Regions from separate parts of the Homo sapiens genome. Here all the other regions are linked to region 5. Evidence: promoter capture Hi-C in 16 types of primary human blood cells and fetal thymus (Javierre and others, 2016). All regions are on one chromosome and are shown on one strand. The core of a region is centred on a gene start or on the middle of the fragment in contact, and the rest is flanking DNA. Distances in the headings are between cores, read along the strand shown. Region 1 overlaps MEX3C (mex-3 RNA binding family member C). Region 2 overlaps ELAC1 (elaC ribonuclease Z 1). Region 3 overlaps LOC107985152 (a long non-coding RNA gene). Region 4 overlaps SMAD4 (SMAD family member 4). Region 5 holds the start of MBD2 (methyl-CpG binding domain protein 2). Region 6 overlaps ME2 (malic enzyme 2). Region 7 has its middle 5.6 kb from the start of MEX3C.

Region 1 (2,868 bases), core at 118-2,617, 3.0 Mb before region 5:
TGGCCGATGCTTTCTAATAAAGCACATGACCTGATCACTTTTTTGCACAAAGTGGAACTTGTTTGTTTGCCCTTCCAAAGCATTCCCAAGCCACTAGGTGTTGACTACACAGGTTGAGTTATCCCCTATCCAAAAACACATGGGACCAGGAATGTTTGAGATTTTGGAGTATTTGCATCATACCTGCCAGTTGGGCATCCCTACTCTGAAAATCTGAAATGCTCCAGTGAGTATTTTCTTTGAGCATTATGCTGGTGCTCAAAAAGCCTCAGATTTTGGAGCTCTAAAACAAAATCGGAGGCTTTTTGAGCATTTAGGATTTCACATTTTCGGATTAGAAGTGTTCAGCCTGTATGTGCTTTTGTTCTACAACAGAAAATCAGTTAGAAGAACAGAGAGTACAATGAAACTTCCACATCTACGTATCATTTATACAGGCTAAATGTCCAGGAGATTCCCTCATTTAGTGCAGCAGGTGCAGTTTGGTGTGCAGAATTGAGATCACTTTCTATTGATGCTTAAGAAATTCTGAAAGGGGTGTATAAACACAGAACTGGTCATATTCTATACTCAGGGGAGTTACTATTTGGATATGTAAGTTCACAGTGGGCTACAACTTGACAAGGTGGCAAGAAGGCAGTCAGCCACAGTTACATTCCTAACAAGAGACAGACAATATTCTGCAGAAAAACACTGGGCAAATTGCATTAAGGACAAAGGGAGAATTAGTCTAAGGGTCTAGGGTTGGTCCCTTTCATCCCTTACTAATATTGACCATTAGAAAACTGAAAATAAATAAAAGAAAAAAAAGGAAAACAGAAATAAAAGAGAAAAAAGAAAACTATGTAAAAATCCCTTAATCAAATACTTTTGATACTATAAGCAACTGTCAGTCACACCCTTAGTAGAATATTTTCTGTTAAATACCTAACAGGTATATTATTAACTGAGGAAATATGCTTGAGGGTCCACAGAACACTATCTAGCCTATGGTTGGTATTAATAAATAGGTGTTTAATGTATGGTTCATTGGGTACAGAGAAGACAAATGGTTTGAGCATGGGCCACTCTTGAGACAGGGGAGAAAGACAGGCCTGGTCTACACCCAAAAGGGTCATGTGTTTATTAGGTTTTGCAGATCAGGGAAAAAAGTAAAAGGAAGACAGCAAAGCCAACCCTGGTTTTTTTTTGTTGTTGTTTTTTGAGATGGAGTCTCTGTCGCCCAGGTTGGAGTGCAGTGGCACCATATCGGCTCACTGCAACTTCCGTCTCCTGGGTTCAAGCAATTCTCCTGCCTCAGCCTCCCGAGTAGCTGGGATTACAGGTGCCCACCACCACACCCGGGTAATTTTTAAAATATATTCTTAGTAGAGACGGGTTTTCACCATGTTGGCCAGGCTAGTCTCAAACTCCTGAACTCAGGTGATCTGCCCGCGTTGGCCTCCCAAAGTGCTGGGATTACGGGCGTGAGCCATCGTGCCTGGCCACCAACCCAGTTTAAGCCACTGCCAATAAAGACAGAGGAAACTATTTCTTCACTTCCCTAAATCTTTTGATTATAGTATCCTAAACTCAGATTAGGGATTATAGGGAAGCTCACCAATCATACCACTGTTTCTGTAGGAACACATATTCTGAGTTCCAAACAACTAACATGATTTCTCAACTACAAATACATTCTAATGTTGGGGACTACTCGAATAGATACTTTTTAAAAGGTGACACAAACTAAAGGAGAAAAACAATCTTGTTTTGTAATTTTGCAGGTGACGAAGGTATTAGCTTTTTTGAGTACTTTGAGTTTTTATTTGAAAACTCGAAGATATTTTTAAAAATAATAGAATTTATAATCTCAGAGTGAAATAAAATTCAGAAGCCGTATTATGATATATTAGCCTGTATTTTTTAAGTTGCTACATGGCACAAGTCACCAAAAACAAAGTAAAAAAACCTAAAATATTTATAACATTATTAGAAATGGCTAATTTCTCACTTTCTTACACACACACAAACACACACATACACGCATGCACACACACATCTCTCCCCTACAAATCAAAACAACAAAAACCCAATAAAAGGGTGAAAGAAACAGCTAACATCAAAGTAAATATACAAATGGCTCTGAAGATGGAAATTCCCATTTTCAAGGGAACTGACCTATTATTTTCTACCTATAAGATTGTCAAATAACAAAAACCTTACAACAATGCTAGTAAAGAGTGGGGAAAAGAACTCTCATATTTAGCTGTGAGAGTATAAACTGCCCTCTAAGAGCTATCACAGTTATAAGCCCATATATTCTTACGCTTCTACAATCTTCTTGTACAATTGATCCTGTAGAAATATGTGCACAAGTGCAAAATAACTTCTGTATTTTATAATTATTGTTTGAATTAGCATGAGGCTGGTACAGCTATATAATGGAATGCTATACACTCATAAAAGTGGTTGACCTAGGGGGACAGGGAAGGAGGGAGGCAGTTTTCACTGTATATTCTTATTTATTTTTTTTAATAAATTTTGAGTCATACATACACATTACTTTTTCAAATAAATATGATTAAGTTAGAAAAGAAAAACAAATTAAATATACAGAAATGATACACTTTACTAGTCTTAGCATATTGATTAGACGTTTGGTTAGTGCTACTGATATTATTTTAAATTACAGTAGCCCCCCTCCCTTATCTGCAGTTTCACTTTCTATCATTTCAGCTCCTTTCAGTCAACCATAGTCCAAATGCAGGTGGGTACAGTACAGAATAAAAAGATATTTGAGAGTGAGTAAGACCACGTTCACCAACTTTTATTACAGTATATTGTTATAAGTCTTCTATTTTATTATTGTTAATCTCTTACTCTGTC
Region 2 (2,700 bases), core at 197-2,696, 3.3 Mb before region 5:
TATCAGGGACATAATGTGTATCTTTTATTCGTGTGAATCTTTTGGGTGCTGTTCCTTTCCTGCTAACTTTATTTCTGGTAATTTTGTTTTTGCTCTTAGAATGGGTTTTTCCCCCATTTCTGTTTTTATCTTGTTATTGCTAAGACTGAGAAGAGTTACTGAAGTTTTTGTATATTTTATATCTAGCTGTCAGTCAAATTCTCTTACAGTAGTTTTTCTTAAGCTTCTTTGTTTTCTTCCCTGCCATCAATGTGGATAATCTATAATCAGTTATGTATAAATTTCAGTTCATTCTAATATATTCTGTTTGATACATATATTCCATCTCAGAAGTATATCAGTGATGTCAGATGTACCTAGAAATAGTGAAAGGAATAGTGCCAGGAGTTGGAATAAACCTGCACATTCAACAGGTTGTTGCTGATCACTTAAAATAGCAGAGTCCCAAGTCCTCGTGAGTCATGGACCATGTCATGTAGGGAGTGAGACATTTGTTCAGCATTATTGTGAAATATCAGCATGACTATAGAGCATAATAGAGCATTACTGTTATGATTGTTCAGAGAAAGGGAAAGGGCTGATCATTATGGGCATCAGAGACACCATATGGTGAGTATCATTAAATACCATCTCTTGCCCTGTATCTCAACTAGAGTTGTTGTTGTTTAGTGTTTATTAGAAGGATTTTTTTTAAAAAAATTAGTAAGTAGAAAGTACAGAGTGTTCCCATATACTCTCTTATCCCTCACCCCTCAGTTTCCCCTTATTAACATCTTGCATTAATGCGGTATATGTTCAGAAGCTTAAGGGCTCATGAAAAAAAAATGAAAAATGTGCTACATGTGTTACAGTTGTTGAGCCAATATTGATACAGATACACTGTCAACTAAAGTTTACATTAGAGCTCATTCACTCTAGTGGTGTTTATTCTGTGTACAGTTGACCAATGTATAATGACATATGTCTGTCTTACTGTATCATACAGAATCGTTTCACTGCCTTAAACATCCCCTGTGCTCTGCCTGTTCATTCTTCCTTCTCTCACCCTGTATCACTAGCAAGCACGATTTTTACTGTCTCCATAGTTTTGCCTTTTTGAGAACATCATATAGTTAGAATTCAGCTATAGTTTTTAATTGCCTGGGTTTGGTTATTTTTGTTTGTTTGGGTGTGTGAACAATTATACAAGATTTGTTAACTTGTAGTTTTAGCCAAGTTATTAAAACCTTACTGTGGATATGTGTGGAATACTATGAGAGACCAAGAATCCAGACTGTTCTAAATAACCAAAAAGTAATAATAGAGATAAATATTACAGGAATATGTTTTTGGTACAGTGATATGAAATAATCCCCAGATGATCTTTCTGTTGCAGGGTGGAAGATGTCTATGGATGTGACATTCCTGGGGACGGGTGCAGCATACCCATCTCCAACCCGGGGTGCCTCTGCTGTGGTCCTTCGGTGTGAAGGCGAGTGCTGGCTCTTTGACTGTGGGGAGGGAACACAGACACAGCTTATGAAAAGCCAACTTAAAGCAGGTTAGTGTGCCTTCAGCTATCTCATTAAGATTTTTTTGTTGTTCTGCTTCATTTTCTTGGCTCTCCTTGGACATTTTGTTTAGAAACAGCCCTGATGGTTGCATCCCACTTCAGTGCTACACCCTGGTGAGACTTGGAAGGCCTGCAGGCATCTGGCCACGTCCACTGAACTTCATTTACTTATTTACTTGCTTTTCATTTATCCTGTAGATGCTGAAAGCAAGGATTCATGTAGGCTTGGGGTTTGGGAAATGTCGTGGGATACACCAGGCATATTAGATGAACACTGCCTTAGCAAGGAAGCAGTGTACATACTTACCTCCACCAGGAGATAGTTTTCATGAGAGGATGCAAAGGGTAGGAAATGTTTGGAGGAGGGAGATGTTGTTTTCCTCTTGGGGTTATCAGGGTAAACTTCTCAGAGAAGTTGACCTGTGGATTGTCAAAGGAGGAGGAGGAATTTCAGGGCTGAGGAGAAGAAGGGCATTTCAATCAGGGGGAATGGAGTGAGCAGAGGCCAGCACCTGGGAGATAGAGCAGTCCAGTGGTGAAAAGCTTCAGCTCAGAGTCAGGCAGACCTGGGTTCTAGTCCTGGCTGTGTCTTGGGCCTGTGACCTTAGCATATCAGCAAACTTCAACTTTACTTTCCCGATCTTGAAAATGGGGATAAAAAGTCTACTTAGAAAGGGTGTTATGAGAATTACATGTAATCATTTATTCTCTGTGTGATTGCCTCTTTCTCAGTTAAATCTTAGCTCAGATGCCATCTTCTCAGAGGCTTTCCCAAATCCTCCTGGATTAAGTAGTTCCTCTCTCACCCCAGTCATTCCTTTACTTTGTCCTATTTTTATTGACTTCTTAGCATCATCAGTATCTGAAATTATGTTATTTAGTTTGTTTCTGTGTTCTTTATCTCCCTATACTGTAAAGTACGTTCCATGATCATTTATATACCTAGTAGATGCCTAGTTATATCTGTTCAACTAGGCATCTACTAAGTATATAAATGATCATGGAACTTACTTTAGTGAATGGATAAGACGTTTAGCAACTTAGCACAGTGCCTCTCACTTATTAGGTCTTGATAAATAGTATTGAAGTCATTATTCCTACAACTCTTCACAGTACCTGGCACTTGGTGACTAAAGGAAAGATACTTC
Region 3 (2,867 bases), core at 359-2,858, 3.2 Mb before region 5:
TTCTAATACTTGATTGGTAGTGGTGGTTACACATTGCATATATTTGCCCAAATGCATCAAATTGTCCACTGCGTCGAGTTTATAATATGTAAATTATACCTCAATAAGATTTTAAAAAAAGAAGAAAAAATCCCAAGCATATCTGGTCCTGAATGGAGTTCAATTCATCAGCACAGCTACCTTCGTTGTCTGGCCCCAGATCCATCTTCCCAGCCTCATCTCTCGCTTCTCTGACACTTGCCATGGGCAAGCCCAGTGTTGGGCACTCAGAGAACGTGGGGGAAGGAGAACCTCTATCTTCAGGGAACTCACAGCCTAGTCTGGGAGCAGAAAGAAAGGGCAGCCAACTCTGACACAGCAGGGCACCATTCCTAGAGGACCACTGAGTCCTAAAGGACAGGAACAAGAATATTCCAGACACAGCCTGGATTCCAGTCATTTTGAATCTCAAGTTTGAATCCAGTTTCAATCTAATATTTTGAATAGGTAATACATTTCTATGGCTGTATACTTTAAGCCAAAGAGATGACAGAGTTTATTTTATTGCTTTTAGGAATGTGGGAATCACTTGTAATATTTAGGTTAATTGATGTCAAGTAATTTTCAGGAGCAACTGGAATTATTTTAAAAATCACTGGATTAAACTGGGTGCAGTGGTGCATGTCTGTAGTCCCCAGCTACTCAGAAGGCTGAGGCAGGAGGATCACTTGAACGCAGGAGTCTGAGTCCAGCCAAGGCAACACAGCAAGACTCCATCTCTAAAAAACAAAACCAAACCAAACCCAAAACATTGGGTTGACACTAAAATATCATGATGCTAACTTGTGCCAGGAGGTCCTTTACTTGAGGGAAGAGCACTCTGTCTCCATCCCAAGGATGAAAAGATTAAACTTCTATATTCTCCTCACCCTTAGAAAGCTCCTATTCATAGGAGGTAAAACCATTAAATAAAACAAAAGGAAAATAAACCTTTCAAGTCTTTGCCTGCGCCTATCAGAGATCTATGTGGAACTGGCAGTAGCTTGGCTCCCTTTGAGTGCTTTGGAACTATGGTCTTCAAGATTTCTTGCTTGCTTTTCTCCTAAAAGAAATTTGAAAAACTGTGTTTTTTTCTTCCTTCCTTTCTTTCCTTTTTCTTTCTTTCTCTCTCCTTCCTTCCGTCCTTTTTTTTAAAATAAGAGATAGGGTCTCATTCTGTCACTTAGGCTAGAGTGCAGTGGCATGATCACGGCCCACTGCAGCCTCAAACTCCTGGGCTCAAGCAATCCTCTCACCTCAGCCTCCTGAGTGGCTGGGATTACAGGCATGAGCCATCACGCCTGGCTAAAACTGTTTCTTCTTGAACTTTTAAAGGTCATATCTAAAATGTTTCATCACAAGTTTAAATAATAGTAAGGTTTGTTATTTCTGGCGTAAGTATTGGCATTTTAAAATAAGATTGTTACATCATTCTTTAAACGTATCCAAGGAAATTTAAAGATCATAATGCATCTATCAACCATTTAAAAAATATATGAACAAGCTTTTCTTTAAAGTAAATTTTACATCACTTTTTTTTTCTTATCTTGTATTTCCATTCCACTTACCCCTCAATATTTTAATATAATATTTTAAGCTGGAGAGTCTTTTATTGATCAACCTATCATATTTCCCTACAAAAAAATTTTTTTAAAAAAATTCTTGACTGAGTCTGATAAGCTTAAAAAGCTCATTTTGATTGTATAATTTTAATATCTAATTGATCTAAACAACATAAAATATTACATATTTTGGTATCTATTAAAATTAAAGGATATTTTTGCTGAATGAAATAGAATTGGGTCAAACCTAATCCTAGTTTTCACTTCTATGGATAGAAGCACAAACACCTTGTTCATTCATTCAACAAATATTTATTGAGCACCTCCTACGTGTCAATAGCTACTCTAGGCACTTGGGATACACTGGTAAACACTACAGATAAATCCTTGCCCTCATGGAGCTTACATTCTAGCGGGGGGTAATAGGCAATAAACAATAAACACAACACATAAGTAAATCATATAGTATGTCAGAAGTGCTATAGTAAAACAGAAAGCAGGGTAAAGGGGCTTTGGGTGTACTGTGAGAGTTAAGAATGGGCTGTGATTTTTAAAAGGTCAAGATAGGCTTCAATGAGGTAACTTTTGACCAAAGGAGGTGAGAGAGTTGGCAATGCAGATATCTGGGGGAAACATGTACAAGGCAGAGGGCACAGCCAGTGCAGAGGCCCTAACTTGGGAGCATGGCTGGCATCTTCTAGGGACAAGAAAAGAGGTCGGGAAGGTTAGGACATATTGGAGAATGACTGATAGGAAATGAGATTAGAGAAGTAATGCTCAGGGTGGAGTGGTGATGCTGATCTTATAGAACCCTTTAGACTATTGTAAGGATGTAGATTTTTACTCTAAATGAAATGAGGATCATTTAATGCAGGGATTTAAGCAGAGTGCAGATGTCTGACTTTTTTTTTTTTTTTTTTGAGACGGAGTCTTGCTCTGTCACCCAGGCTGGAGTGCAGTGGCGCGATCTCCACTCACTGTAAGCTCCGCCTCCTGGGTTCACGCCATTTTCCTGCCTCAGCCTCCCGAGTAGCTGGGACTACAGGCGCCCGCCACCACGCCCGGCTAATTTTTTTGTAATTTTTAGTAGAGACAGGGTTTCACCGGGTTAGCCAGGATGGTCTCAATCTCCTGACCTCGTGATCTGCCCGCCTTGGCCTCCCAAAGTGCTGGGATTATAGGCGTGAGCCACTGTGCCTGGCCCTGACTTCTATTTTAAAAGGATCTCTCTAGCTATTATGTTGGGAAGAGGCAAGCATGAGAACAGGGAGAGCTTTTAGAAGATGA
Region 4 (2,807 bases), core at 259-2,758, 3.2 Mb before region 5:
TCATTGAGTTATCTAGAAATGGGTCGTCTTTTATTTGTCCCCCCTTTTTCACCCTTCATATTTCAGTTGGTTAAAGACTCCAGTCTTTTCTACCTAGAAATAGCTCACTGATTTCCCCCTCCCCTCCTTGGCCCATTGCCCATGCCCCAGTCTAGGATCTTACCGCTTTTCTGGTAATTGTTTCCTAACTGGTTTTCTATTTCCTTTTCCAAAGCTGTTCTCCAGGCTCTCACTGAAGTTTTCTAATACAAATCTAATGCTGTTTTTTCTCCTCTTTCTACCATGAACCTACTCTAGACAAAGCTCTTATCCGTCTCTGCTTTTCCTCATCATTTTCCTTCAGCCTGGCAAATTCTTATTCGTATGTGGTAATCCATTAATACTATTCTACCAATATTCTGATGGCTGTCCCCTGGCACATGGTAGTATTGTGCTTCTTTGTCTCCCTCATCCCTACCTTGAAATTAGGCATGGCCCAGAGTTTCTTGCATTGGCACTGTTGACATTTTAGGCTGGATAATTTATTTTGCGTGTTGTCCAGTGCATTGCAGGGTATTTAGCAGCAACCATGGCCTTTAGCCACCAGATGCCCAGTAGTATCCAGTTGTGACCATATATTGCCTCCAGATGTTGCCAAGTGTCCCCTGAGGGACAAAGTTGCCCCTGGTTGAGAACTCCTGGCATGGCCTTATGACTTTGGCCAGTCAAACATGAGCAGAAGTGGTAGCCTTTAAAAGAAGATATATGAGCTGTCCTATCCCTTCTCCTGCCATTTAAGGACATATGTAGAAATGGAGCCTTTGTCAGTCTAATTTCTGAGCGATGACAGCAGTGCCCCCAGTTGATCTGTGATGAATGTGTATTATATCCTAAGCAGAAAATAAGCTTTTGTTTTAAGCTACTGATCTTTTGGGGGTTGGTTGTCACTGCAGCATAGACTAGCCAATCCTGACTGATACGTTGTGCCAAGACCTAGGTTACCTATGAACTTTCCATGCTCCCTCATTTATAGTCCCAAATCACTTTATACCTACTTCTTTTAGCATTTATTACTTATGTAATAATATGTTTGGGTCTTCCAGATTAGTAGTTCTCAGTGGAGTAAGTACTGCTCTTTAAGGGATGTTGTAGAAATTTGTGGATGGGTTTGGTGGATTGGTGGCCAGGGATGCCATCCTGCAATGTGAGAGACAGCGAATAATTATCTTGCATCCCACAAGACTTTCAGATGCCCCAGAAATTCATGTAGGAGGAAAATATAATTAGCCCAGAACCTAACTCTATAATATATATTCACTTTGCCAGGAGTTAAATTTCTTTTAATTCATTTTTTTCTTGCCTGCCTGCCTCCCTCCCTCCTTCCCTCCCTCCCTCCCTCCCTCCCTCCCTCTCTCCCTCTCTCTTTCTCTCTGTTTTCTTTCTTTTTCCTTCCTCCCTCCCTGCCTCCCTCCCTTACTTCAGGCTCTGTTACCCAGGCTGGAGTGCAGTGGCGTGATCTTGGCTCACTGCAACCTCTGCCTCCCAGGCTCAAGCCGTCCTCCCACCTCAGCCTTCTGAGTAGCTGGGACTATAGGCATGTGCCACCATGCCCCACTAATTTTTTGTATTTTTTGTAGAGAGGAGGTCTCACTTTGTTGCCAGGCTGGTCCTGGCAACCGTGCCTTTGTTGCCAGGCTGGTCCTGAGCTTAAGTGATCCAACCATGTCGGCCTCTTAAAGTGCTGGGATTACAGGCATGAGCCACTGTACCCGGACTTGGTTGTTTTGTTTTTTATTTTTGAGACCAAATCTTACTCTGTCACTTGGGCTGGAGTGCAGTGGCTCAGTCATAGCTCACCGTAGCCTTGGTCTCCTGGGCTCAAGCAGTCCTCCTGCCCCAGCCTCTTGTTAATTCATTTTCTTAGTTCAAGTTGTTTAAGAGTTCACCATTTGGGAAAATCCATGTTACTGACTGCAGTGCCATTGTGCTATTTGAGTTGCCAGTATAACACGTTTGTCTTGGAAGGTCTGAATTTGTAGCTGTCACATTTGTAATGATTCTGTATATAAGTGCTAGCATCTAACTTCTTTATTATACATTCTAACTTAGTTGGCATGCCTGAGTATTTATAGGTGGAAGTACACATTATATATTAAGCTTTTCCTCCTTTTTGTTATAGTTAGGGCATTGTTAAATTTTCAAAATATGTTTAAGTAGTTTAGAATTTTGTTTCAGTAAAGCTAAGGTGGTGATATAAATTATTTGTTGGAAAAAAAATGGGATGTTGGTCTGAGAGAGTCCAGACCCACTTTCTTACTATGGGCTTCCTGTTTTTGTATCTGTAGTGCTTTGTATATACAGTGTTTGTTGAATTGGTCAATTTATGTTTCCCACATTTCTTTTATGTACGTTGTTGCATCTAATTACCACAATAAATTTGTGAAGTTGTCAGGGCAGGTGTTTCCATTTTATAGATGAGAGAATTGAGAGAGATGTTAACATTCAGTCATGCGGCTAGACCTTTAATTAGAATATATAATTTTATTTATATCGATATTATGCTCTTGCCTACCATACTTCCATAATCTAGAACCATTTAATGTAGGAATACATCTCTTTATTCCTGCTAGTATTATTTTTTATATGCATAACTTTTAATTATGTTTCAGGCACTTGTGGTCATAGGAATACAATAAAGAGAGAGATGAGAAAGCTGTTTGTTTAAGAAAGCGAGGTCATTATCATTTGTATTCAAAGCAACTTGGTATTAAAACAAACTTTGAGATACCGTTAAGGCCCCAGCATAGCATAAATTTTAGAAATGATGA
Region 5 (2,828 bases), core at 153-2,652:
ATGTCTCAACCTCAGCACAGGTGACAATTTGGGCCAGATCATTCTTTGTTGTGGCAGCTTTCCTTTGTATTATCGAATATGTAGCAGCATCTCTGGCCTCTACCCACTAGATGCCAGTATCACACCCTCCCCAGGTGTGAGAACCGAAAATGTCTCCAGACATTGACAAATGTTCCCTGGGGAGCAAATTTTGGTCTAGGAGTCTAAAAACTTAGTACAGTGTGTCAGTTTCAAAAGAGTATATTCTGCAATACCAAGAAGTTCCAAAAAAACTTCAGGCATTCCAAATAGCTGCTTTATACAAAACTTTCTTGGATGAAGTAAATGAAACCTTGTTACTGTAGATAGCTCATTCTTCCACATGTGCATGCTTAACACTTGTGATGATGAATCTGGGACAGGCTGGGACAGGAGCCAACAGTGACTGGGTTTTATAGTTTCGATGAATTACACCTCCTTTTAACCCTTCAGTGGACTAACCATCCCTGCCAGGCTAACCCTTTCTTCGCAAACCATCTTCCCCGACGCCTTCCACATAAGATGCCCTCCTGCGGGCCCTCACCTTTTGACACTGCCTCCCACCGCACTGGGGTCAACTCTCACCCAAGGGTTCCGCCACCTTCCACCACCAAACCAGCCTGTCCCTGCCACATGCCCCCCGGGCCCCAGCGCTCATCCTCTGCCCAGGCCCGCTCTTGACCCCTGACCCCGGCCTGACCCCGCCACCCCCTCCCCGCCCCCAGGGAGGTACCTGAAGTAGTAGACATCGCTCTTGCCAGCACTTAGCCCAGATTTTCGGATCACTTCCTCCTTCTTCCATCCGGGGGGGAGGGCCGGGCAATCCATCCTCTTCCCGCTCTCCGTGGCCCGGGGTCCCCTGGGCCCCGGCCCCGCGCTCCCCGACGGGAAAGGGACCGGCTCCCGCCGGGGGGCGCCGCCGCCACCGCTGCCGCCGCCGCCGCAGCCGCCGCCGTCGCCGCCAAGGCCGCTGCCGCCACTCGGGGGACGGCCGCGGCCCCGGCCCCGGCCCCGTCCCCGTCCCCGGCCACGGCCCCGGCCCCGGCCACGGCCACAGACGCCGCCGCCCCGGCCCGCCTGCTTCCACCGCCCCCGGCCACGGCCGCCGCCCCGAGCGCCTTCCCTGCGCACGCCGCTCACCGGGGACGGGGCGAGCGCGCTGCCCTGGCCCCCCTGCTCTATGGCGGAGTCGCCGCCAGCGCCGCTGCCGCCCGCCGCACTCTCCCCCTCCTCCTGCTCCGGGCAGCAGCGGCCTCCCCCCGGGTGCGCGCGCATCCAGCCCCCTCCCCAGCCGGCGCTGCGCTTCTTCCGTAACCGAGCCCTTGGAATCCCGGAGACCCGCCCCGCCCGCAGCGCGGCGCGCGGGGGACGCGCGCAAGCATCATAGAGCGGGCGCGCACAGAGCGGCCCTCCTGCCCGGGGCGTGGCCCCGGCCACCGCCTCTTAGGTCCTCCAAGCGCTATGGGCGGCCATCTTGTCTCCGCCTTCTCGGGGCCACGCCCCCTCCCGCGCTTTTCCGGCCCCCACTGGGCGCGCGGAGCTGGGAAGGTTGGTCGGGCTAGCCACCAGCTGGGGGTGTCATAGTGACTGTGGTTAGTTTGTTTCAAACGGGGTAACCTCCACCATTATGTGATTTTACCTATGTTTGCTTCCCAATTAATGAATAACAAGCAAAATAGATCTTATATTACATACCAACTCGGCTATTCATTTAAGGGGGTGATAGCCCCTTTTCCCGCCCCTCTGCACAAAGCTTGCAGGGGAGCTTATAATGAAGGAATGAAGCAAAGTGTCCCATTCGCTGAATACCAGTTCCCTCCTGAGCCTGGCTTCAGAGCCATTGACAGATTCTCCTGGAACCTTGTAAGGATGTAGGAAAGGAAATGATAACTTGGAATATGCCCATGAGTCAGATGGGGCTTACCTCTAGATTCTCCTTAGAATGACCAGAATCCCTAAATCCATCTAGAAATTTCCAGATGTCTTTGTCTAATACAAAAATCAGTGGCCTTTTATTTGGTAAATATTCCATTATGTTGAAAGTCCAGCCTAACTTACTGTCACAAGCCTTTAGGAAACTGTGTGGTATTCTTTTCGGTCTGCCAACTTGAATTTTAGAAATGCATATTTTCTATAAGTTGTCGAACACTTATAGAAGTGTGCTATTGATATTCAAGATAATATATTATGAAATATTTGGAAGATTGAAAAATGTAAAGCACATGTTATCAGCCTGATGATAAGCTATCTTGGGTTTCTATACTCATATGCCCTAAAAACTGAGGACCAAGTTTAACGTATAGAAAAAGTTGATTAATATAAAGCAACAAAAATCTAAAATTAATTTGGTTTATCTTTGCAGTATATGCAAACATTAACTCATACACACAAACTTGTCTGTCTCTAAACCTGACCTTAGTCTTCTTTTAATGTCCTTTAGTTGAAAGACACTAATTTGTGGTTTCCTACAAGAAATTTAGAAATGTGAATGTAAAAAATCATCAAGAAATGAGTTCTGAGGAGATCAGTACTGGAGACATTCATTTAGAAGTCATCTGTGGGCCGGGCGCGGTGGCTCACGCCTGTAATCCCAACACTTTGGGAGGCAGAGGCGGGCAGATCACCTGAGGTCAGGAGTTCAAGACCAGCCTGGCTAACACGATGAAACTCCGTCTCTACTAAAAATGCAGAAAATTGGCTGGGCGTGGTGGCGGGCGCCCGTAGTCCCAGCTGCTCCGGAGGCTGAGGCAGGAGAATGGCGTGAACCCGGGAGGCGGAGCTTGCAGTGAACTGGATCACGCCACTGCACT
Region 6 (2,712 bases), core at 184-2,683, 3.3 Mb before region 5:
GTGTCTTTTGGTAAACAGCATTTTGTCAACAAACTTTTCATATGGCTATAGAATCTTGTTTTTTCCAAATAAAAACTTTGCAATTGGGAGTTATTCCTCCATTCAGCACACTTTTTAATGTTAAGACTAGGGGAAACTTGTGGGTATATATTCAGTGGTTTTCAGGATTTTCTTTTATGTTCTAGAAAAGTAATTTTTCCTTTCCTAGTTTTAAGTATATATTCAAGCAAATCGTTGATTCCTATACAGCCATTGGATTATCACCAACACATTTGGTATATACAGTGGGCCGATAATGACAAACTAAAGTTTGTGGTTAATACCTACTCTATACCAGACACTGTTCTAAGGATCCGACATATTTAATCCTCTGTTTACCCTCTGTTTCTGTGCCTGATTTACAGACAGAGACAGAGGCACAGAGAGGTTAAATGACTTGTCAAAGGTCTTATGATGTGTGGCAGAGCCTGGGTTTTTAGCTCAAACCCCTCTCAGTGAAGAAAGCCTTCTGTGTAGGCAATTTCATCTAATACCTTCATGAATTGTTACTTCAGATGAGAATTCTCACTTATTCTTTTTTTTTTTTTTTTTTCTTTTCTTTGAGACAGCCTTGCTCTGTCTCCCAGGCTGGAGTGCAGTGGCGCAATCTCAGCTCACTGCAAGCTCCGCCTCCCGGGTTATGCCATTCTCCTGCCTCAGCCTTCCGAGTAGCTCGGACTACAGGCGCCCGCCACCTCGCCCAGCTAATTTTTTGTATTTTTAGTAGAGACGGGGTTTCACCGTGTTAGCCAGGATGGTCTCGATCTCCTGACCTCATGATCCACCCGCCTCGGCCTCCCAAAGTGCTGGGATTACAGGCGTGAGCCACCGCGCCCGGCCTCACTTAGTCTTTTACCAGTTCATCTGATTTTTACTTTGTTCCCATTTATAATTCAAATATAATATAAACGTCTTATTCATTTAGTCTTCAGCATTTTAAGTATTCGACACGAACATTAAAGATTTGGTGTTGAATTTAATAAATTACACCAAAAAGTCTCAGTAGCCAATTCACTAACATCTTTTGATTTGGTAATCTTCACAGAATCAACAACTGTTAACACTTCTGTGCAAATAAATTTCAGTTGTGCTTATATATTATAATATTCACTTTAGGAATCCACCTGTCAATTTGCAATTCAATTATAAGGTATATTTTAAGTGATATCTATGTATTGTATACACATATTCCATTGAAAGGTGAGAATAATTAGAAAGTAGTAATATAAAAATGTGTATGAAATAAGAACTTTCTTAAAAGACCTAGTTTAGCTAAATATATGACAATATAAAATGTCTGCCCAATGTTTTATTATACTTTGTCTAATGACCTTTAAATTTAACTGAAATTAAAACCGTACTTTTGCAGTTGATATTTTTGTGTTCCCTTTGTTAACATACCAAGCACTAATTATTGACTTCAAGGAAGCCACGTATTGCAAGTCATTGCTTAGCCTTTCACATCTGAGTGTTGATAAGATGACGGAATGGGTAGTCTTGTAGTAATTGCTTATGGGAATGCTAGTTTAAGAGGAATGCCTTGTATAGAACATATTATACCAGATTGACTTGTTAAAAATGGTTCCAAGAATCAGTCTAAAAACTTCAGAATTATGTGAATTATTTTTTCTCTGTTGTGATATGTTGTAATGAGATGTGTGTTCTTATATTTTCTTAGTAAAATTTTCTTAAGCATAAAATGCTTTATGATCTTGTTTTTAAAGGCTCTGTGTATAGGACACTTTTAAAACTTGGTAATATAAACCTTAACACACACTCTCTCTCTTTCTCTCTCTCTCCAGAATACTTGATCTCTTGGGAATGTATTGTTGGACTTAAATTCACCTATGGAGTACTAGTTTTGCTCCTCATCTTTTCATTCCCTTTTGTTGAGCTCCCTACCCTATTCCTCTTCTTACTTGATTTAATTATGATACTAAAGGAATTCTCTATCGCCTTTTCTTCTCCCCACTTCTCACACGCAAACACCAAGACCCTAATGTTAAGATACTAAATCAGGAGAGACTATGTTGATTTTGTGATGAAGGGGGGAATTATATAATAACAAATACCTACTGAGACCCTCAGATAAAAGTTCTTTTTTTGCCTCAGGATTCATGAATAGCTCCCAGGAGTCCACGAAGCCCCTGAAATAATACATGATCCTATGCTTGTGTCTCTTGGAGGGAGAGAGTCCATCACCTTCATGAAAGGGCCCTTTCTTTTCCCGGGATAGGTTGAGAAAAACTAGCCTACGCCTCTTTTTTTTTTTGAGACAGGTTCTCACTCTGTCACACAGGCTGGAGTGCAGTGGGGCGATCTCAGCTCATTGCAGCCTCTGCCTCCTGAGTGCAGGTGATTCTCCCACCTCAGCCTCCCAGAGTGCTGGGATTACAGGCGTGAGCCACCGTGCCCGGCCGGCCTACACCACTTTTTGACAACTCCATCATACTTCTTTATTGGGAGGGCTGGCATGGTGAAAGGCCCCAACTTGCATGGAGGCTGAAATAGGTAGCCAGACCAATAAAGGCCTATCGTTGCCTCTATAGCAAATAACACCTAGATACCTCAGCAAGAGCAGTGGGTCAGCAGCACCTCCTTCCCCAAATACAACTGCTCTGTTCTTGAATCCTGAACAGTGTGGACCTCAAATACCACCTGGTCTGTGTCTAA
Region 7 (2,781 bases), core at 277-2,776, 3.0 Mb before region 5:
TGAATGGCTCACTGCCTTGCAAGAAAATCTTCTACATGGAATTCCAGGCCTTCCACATTTTGGTATCATTCTTTCAGGTGCTCAAAACTGTCACATAAGCATGCTCAGATCTCTCCCATATTAACAGAAACTCCTCCTTGACAGCACATCCCCCTCTTGTCACCACCCTCTTTACTTTCAATCAGCTTCTCCAATCAGCTGTCTGCACTCACTGCCCATTTCTTTACCAAGCACTGCAATGCAGCCATGGCTCTTGCTGCTTCACTGAAATTATTCTCACCTTGTCAGTAAATCCATTGAGCGCTTTTTATCCTTATCCAGCTTAACCTTTCCATGGCAGGATTTGACACTATTGACTGCTCTTTAAAGCAACCTCTTCCTTTCCCTTCCTTGAGCTCTGCTTTTCTTACTTCCATGGTCATGCCCTGGTCTCCATAGAAGGCTCTGTGTTCCTATCACTCACATATGGCATCCATCAAAGATCAGTCTCAGTCAGGCCTGCTTTTGCTTACTGTATACTCTCCACCTAAACTTTTATCCATTTCCAAGGCTTCTATTACCTTGTTGACAGTTCCCAAGTACATATTGCCATTTCTTATCTCTCCATTGAGTTCCAGACCCACAAGTCCCACTGTTTTATGGATACCTGGAATTGGCAATTCAAATTCAACCTCAGTTTAAACTCAATTTCTCAAACAAATCTTCTCAGGTAAAATTGATTTTCAGCTTAATAGTGTGCTAGATAGCACCATTGTCTACTCCATTCTTTTGACAAAAGCCTGGTGGACATTCTTGACTTCTTCTTTAACTCCCATAGCCAGTCAAAGATCAGGTTCTAAGGGTCATACCAATTCTCAAATCCATCCATCTTTCTGCATCTCTACCACTGTGATAGAATAAGAAATTTATCTTTGATCTTTATCCATAATTTGTGGTACAGAGCTCCTAAAACTCTTGTAATTTCCTGAATAATTGGTGGTGATAGGAGATTGAGTTAATAAACATGCATGTATGATAAAACCTCCATTAAAAAAAAACCCTTGGAGAGCTTCTGGGTTAGTGAAGGCACACACATACCAGGAGGGTAGTGTGCTCCAACTCTACTAGGACAGAAGCTCCTGAGCACAGGATCCTTCCAGATCTCACCCTGTGTACCTCTTCACCTGGCTGTTCGTTCGGATCCTTTATACTCAACCAGTAATAGTAAGATGCTTTTCTGAGTTCTGTGAGCCACTCTAGCAAATATTTGTGTCCCTGGGAACCCCTGACTTTGTAGCCAAATTGGATAGAAGGTTGGGTACCCTGGATACTCAAAACTTGTGTTGGCATCTGCAGTGGGGCAGTCTTGTGGGGCTGAGCCCTTAACCTATGGGATCTATGTTAACTCCAAGTAGTTAGTGCCAGAACTGAATTGAATTTTGAGACACCCACTCGATGTCCAGAAAGTTGGAGCATTGTTTGATTTGGAGACAAAACCCCATACATTTGGTGTTAGAAGTGCTGAGACTAAAACTGTTCAGAACCATCATTACCACAGTCTAGATGATGAACAGGAGTCCCCAAGACAAATATTCTTACATCTAGTCTTGCACCACTCTAATTCATTGTCCATGCTGCAGCTGGAATAATTTTAATTCAGGATTACTTCTTCTACTTCTCTTAAAACCCTTTTTGTCGTCCTTAGGATAATATCCACATTTCCTAACATACAAGGTCTTCTGCATCTGGGCTATGTCTACCTCTTATCCTTGTTCATGCTAGGCTTCCTTTTACATTGTTGTTCTTACCATAAAGGCCTTCTGGCAAGTGTTCATATATTCTACATATTCTTCTTATGCCTCCAGGCCTGGAATAGGGCTCTTCTGCCTTCAGTCTTTTTTTTTTTTTTTTTTTTTTGGAGACGGAGTCTTGCTCTGTGGCCCAGGCTGTAGTGCAGTGGTGCAATCTCAGCTCACTGCAACCTCCACCTCCCAGGTTCAAGCAATTCTCCTGCCTCAGCCTCCTGAGTAGCTGGGATTACAGGCACCCACCACCACACCATGCTAATTTTTGTATTTTTTAGTAGAGAAGGGGTTTCACCATGTTGGCCAGGCTGGTCTTGAACTCCTGACCTCACGTGATCCACCCGCCTCGGCCTCCCAGAGTGCTGGGATTACAGGTGTGAGCCATGGCACCTGGCCTCTCCTTTCACTCTTAGCTAAGCTAACGTCAATACAAGTTGTCCTTCAGAGCTCAGCTTAAACATCACTTCCTCTAGGGTGTCTTCCCTAACCTATTAGGTAAGGTAGATGTCCTGCAATTGGCTCTTATGGTGTCCTCTATGTCCCTAGCAACACTTTGCATTCTTTGTTCTGGAATTGTCTCTCTTCTTCTCTTCTTTATAAAGCCAGCTTTACCATAGCACTTGGTACCTAGGAGGGGCCAGTATGTCCTTGCTGACTGACCAACTAAATGGATATTATTTCAAATAAACTCAGTTCAACAGCTAATCTGAACCTTTGGCCGTTTTTGAAATATGCATTGTACTATCCCATCTTTGTGCCTTTGCTAGTGTTGTTTTTCTGCTCAGATTGCCCTGACCTTCTATCCCACCTTCCCCATCTCCACACATTTTTAATCCTCAGCTTACATTTGACTTCTTCCAACCTACATTCCTAGTCAATAGAATCAGGGCTAGTCCTTCCCTTCCTCTCCCCAGGAAAATACATATGAAGGCAACATTTCTCGTATATTTCTGTATGCTTAAACGACCCCTTAAAGTCTACCCATGGATCTCTTGGG

What was found. The method cuts DNA at HindIII sites, captures the fragments that hold promoters and counts their contacts. A CHiCAGO score of 5 or more calls a contact.
Region 1: a contact is called between a fragment that was not itself captured here and the fragment with the promoter of MBD2 in region 5, in 4 of 17 cell types (total CD4 T cells, non-activated CD4 T cells, naive CD8 T cells and 1 more). The highest score is 12.2, in total CD4 T cells.
Region 2: a fragment that was not itself captured here is called in contact with the fragment with the promoter of MBD2 in region 5 in 3 of 17 cell types (naive CD4 T cells, naive CD8 T cells and total CD8 T cells); the score reaches 6.0 in naive CD4 T cells.
Region 3: a fragment that was not itself captured here is called in contact with the fragment with the promoter of MBD2 in region 5 in 8 of 17 cell types (non-activated CD4 T cells, naive CD8 T cells, total CD4 T cells and 5 more); the score reaches 15.1 in non-activated CD4 T cells.
Region 4: a contact is called between a fragment that was not itself captured here and the fragment with the promoter of MBD2 in region 5, in 6 of 17 cell types (non-activated CD4 T cells, naive CD8 T cells, activated CD4 T cells and 3 more). The highest score is 18.9, in non-activated CD4 T cells.
Region 6: a fragment that was not itself captured here is called in contact with the fragment with the promoter of MBD2 in region 5 in 5 of 17 cell types (activated CD4 T cells, total CD8 T cells, non-activated CD4 T cells and 2 more); the score reaches 11.0 in activated CD4 T cells.
Region 7: a contact is called between a fragment that was not itself captured here and the fragment with the promoter of MBD2 in region 5, in 8 of 17 cell types (non-activated CD4 T cells, naive CD8 T cells, total CD8 T cells and 5 more). The highest score is 12.9, in non-activated CD4 T cells.

The regions. Positions count from the first base shown.
Region 1 is chr18:51,179,297-51,182,164 of GRCh38, forward strand. The region is part of intron 1 of MEX3C (mex-3 RNA binding family member C); the gene reads right to left. Among named protein-coding and RNA genes, the nearest start is that of MEX3C, 17 kb to the right of the region's middle. The HindIII fragment of the contact is 7,159 bases long and covers 1-2,868 here.
Region 2 is chr18:50,973,022-50,975,721 of GRCh38, forward strand. ELAC1 (elaC ribonuclease Z 1) reads left to right here. Exons shown (of 4, transcript NM_018696.3): 2 at 1,376-1,540. The coding sequence starts at 1,384. It also overlaps a transcript of LOC107985152 not described here. Among named protein-coding and RNA genes, the nearest start is that of ELAC1, 6.3 kb to the left of the region's middle. The HindIII fragment of the contact is 1,293 bases long and covers 801-2,093 here.
Region 3 is chr18:51,021,497-51,024,363 of GRCh38, forward strand. The region is part of intron 1 of LOC107985152 (a long non-coding RNA gene); the gene reads right to left. Among named protein-coding and RNA genes, the nearest start is that of SMAD4, 7.3 kb to the right of the region's middle. The HindIII fragment of the contact is 176 bases long and covers 1,521-1,696 here.
Region 4 is chr18:51,040,942-51,043,748 of GRCh38, forward strand. All of the region lies in intron 1 of SMAD4 (SMAD family member 4), which reads left to right. Among named protein-coding and RNA genes, the nearest start is that of SMAD4, 12 kb to the left of the region's middle. The HindIII fragment of the contact is 1,251 bases long and covers 884-2,134 here.
Region 5 is chr18:54,223,267-54,226,094 of GRCh38, forward strand. MBD2 (methyl-CpG binding domain protein 2) reads right to left here and starts at 1,403. Exons shown (of 7, transcript NM_003927.5): 1 at 752-1,403. The coding sequence starts at 1,293. RefSeq lists a silencer at 1,104-1,493 and enhancers at 2,244-2,786, 2,787-2,828. The HindIII fragment of the contact is 9,949 bases long and covers 1-1,769 here.
Region 6 is chr18:50,952,519-50,955,230 of GRCh38, forward strand. It overlaps ME2 (malic enzyme 2), which reads left to right. Exons shown (of 16, transcript NM_002396.5): 16 at 1-1,739. Among named protein-coding and RNA genes, the nearest start is that of ELAC1, 14 kb to the right of the region's middle. The HindIII fragment of the contact is 7,376 bases long and covers 1-2,712 here.
Region 7 is chr18:51,201,883-51,204,663 of GRCh38, forward strand. No RefSeq gene overlaps it. Among named protein-coding and RNA genes, the nearest start is that of MEX3C, 5.6 kb to the left of the region's middle. The HindIII fragment of the contact is 3,570 bases long and covers 1-2,781 here.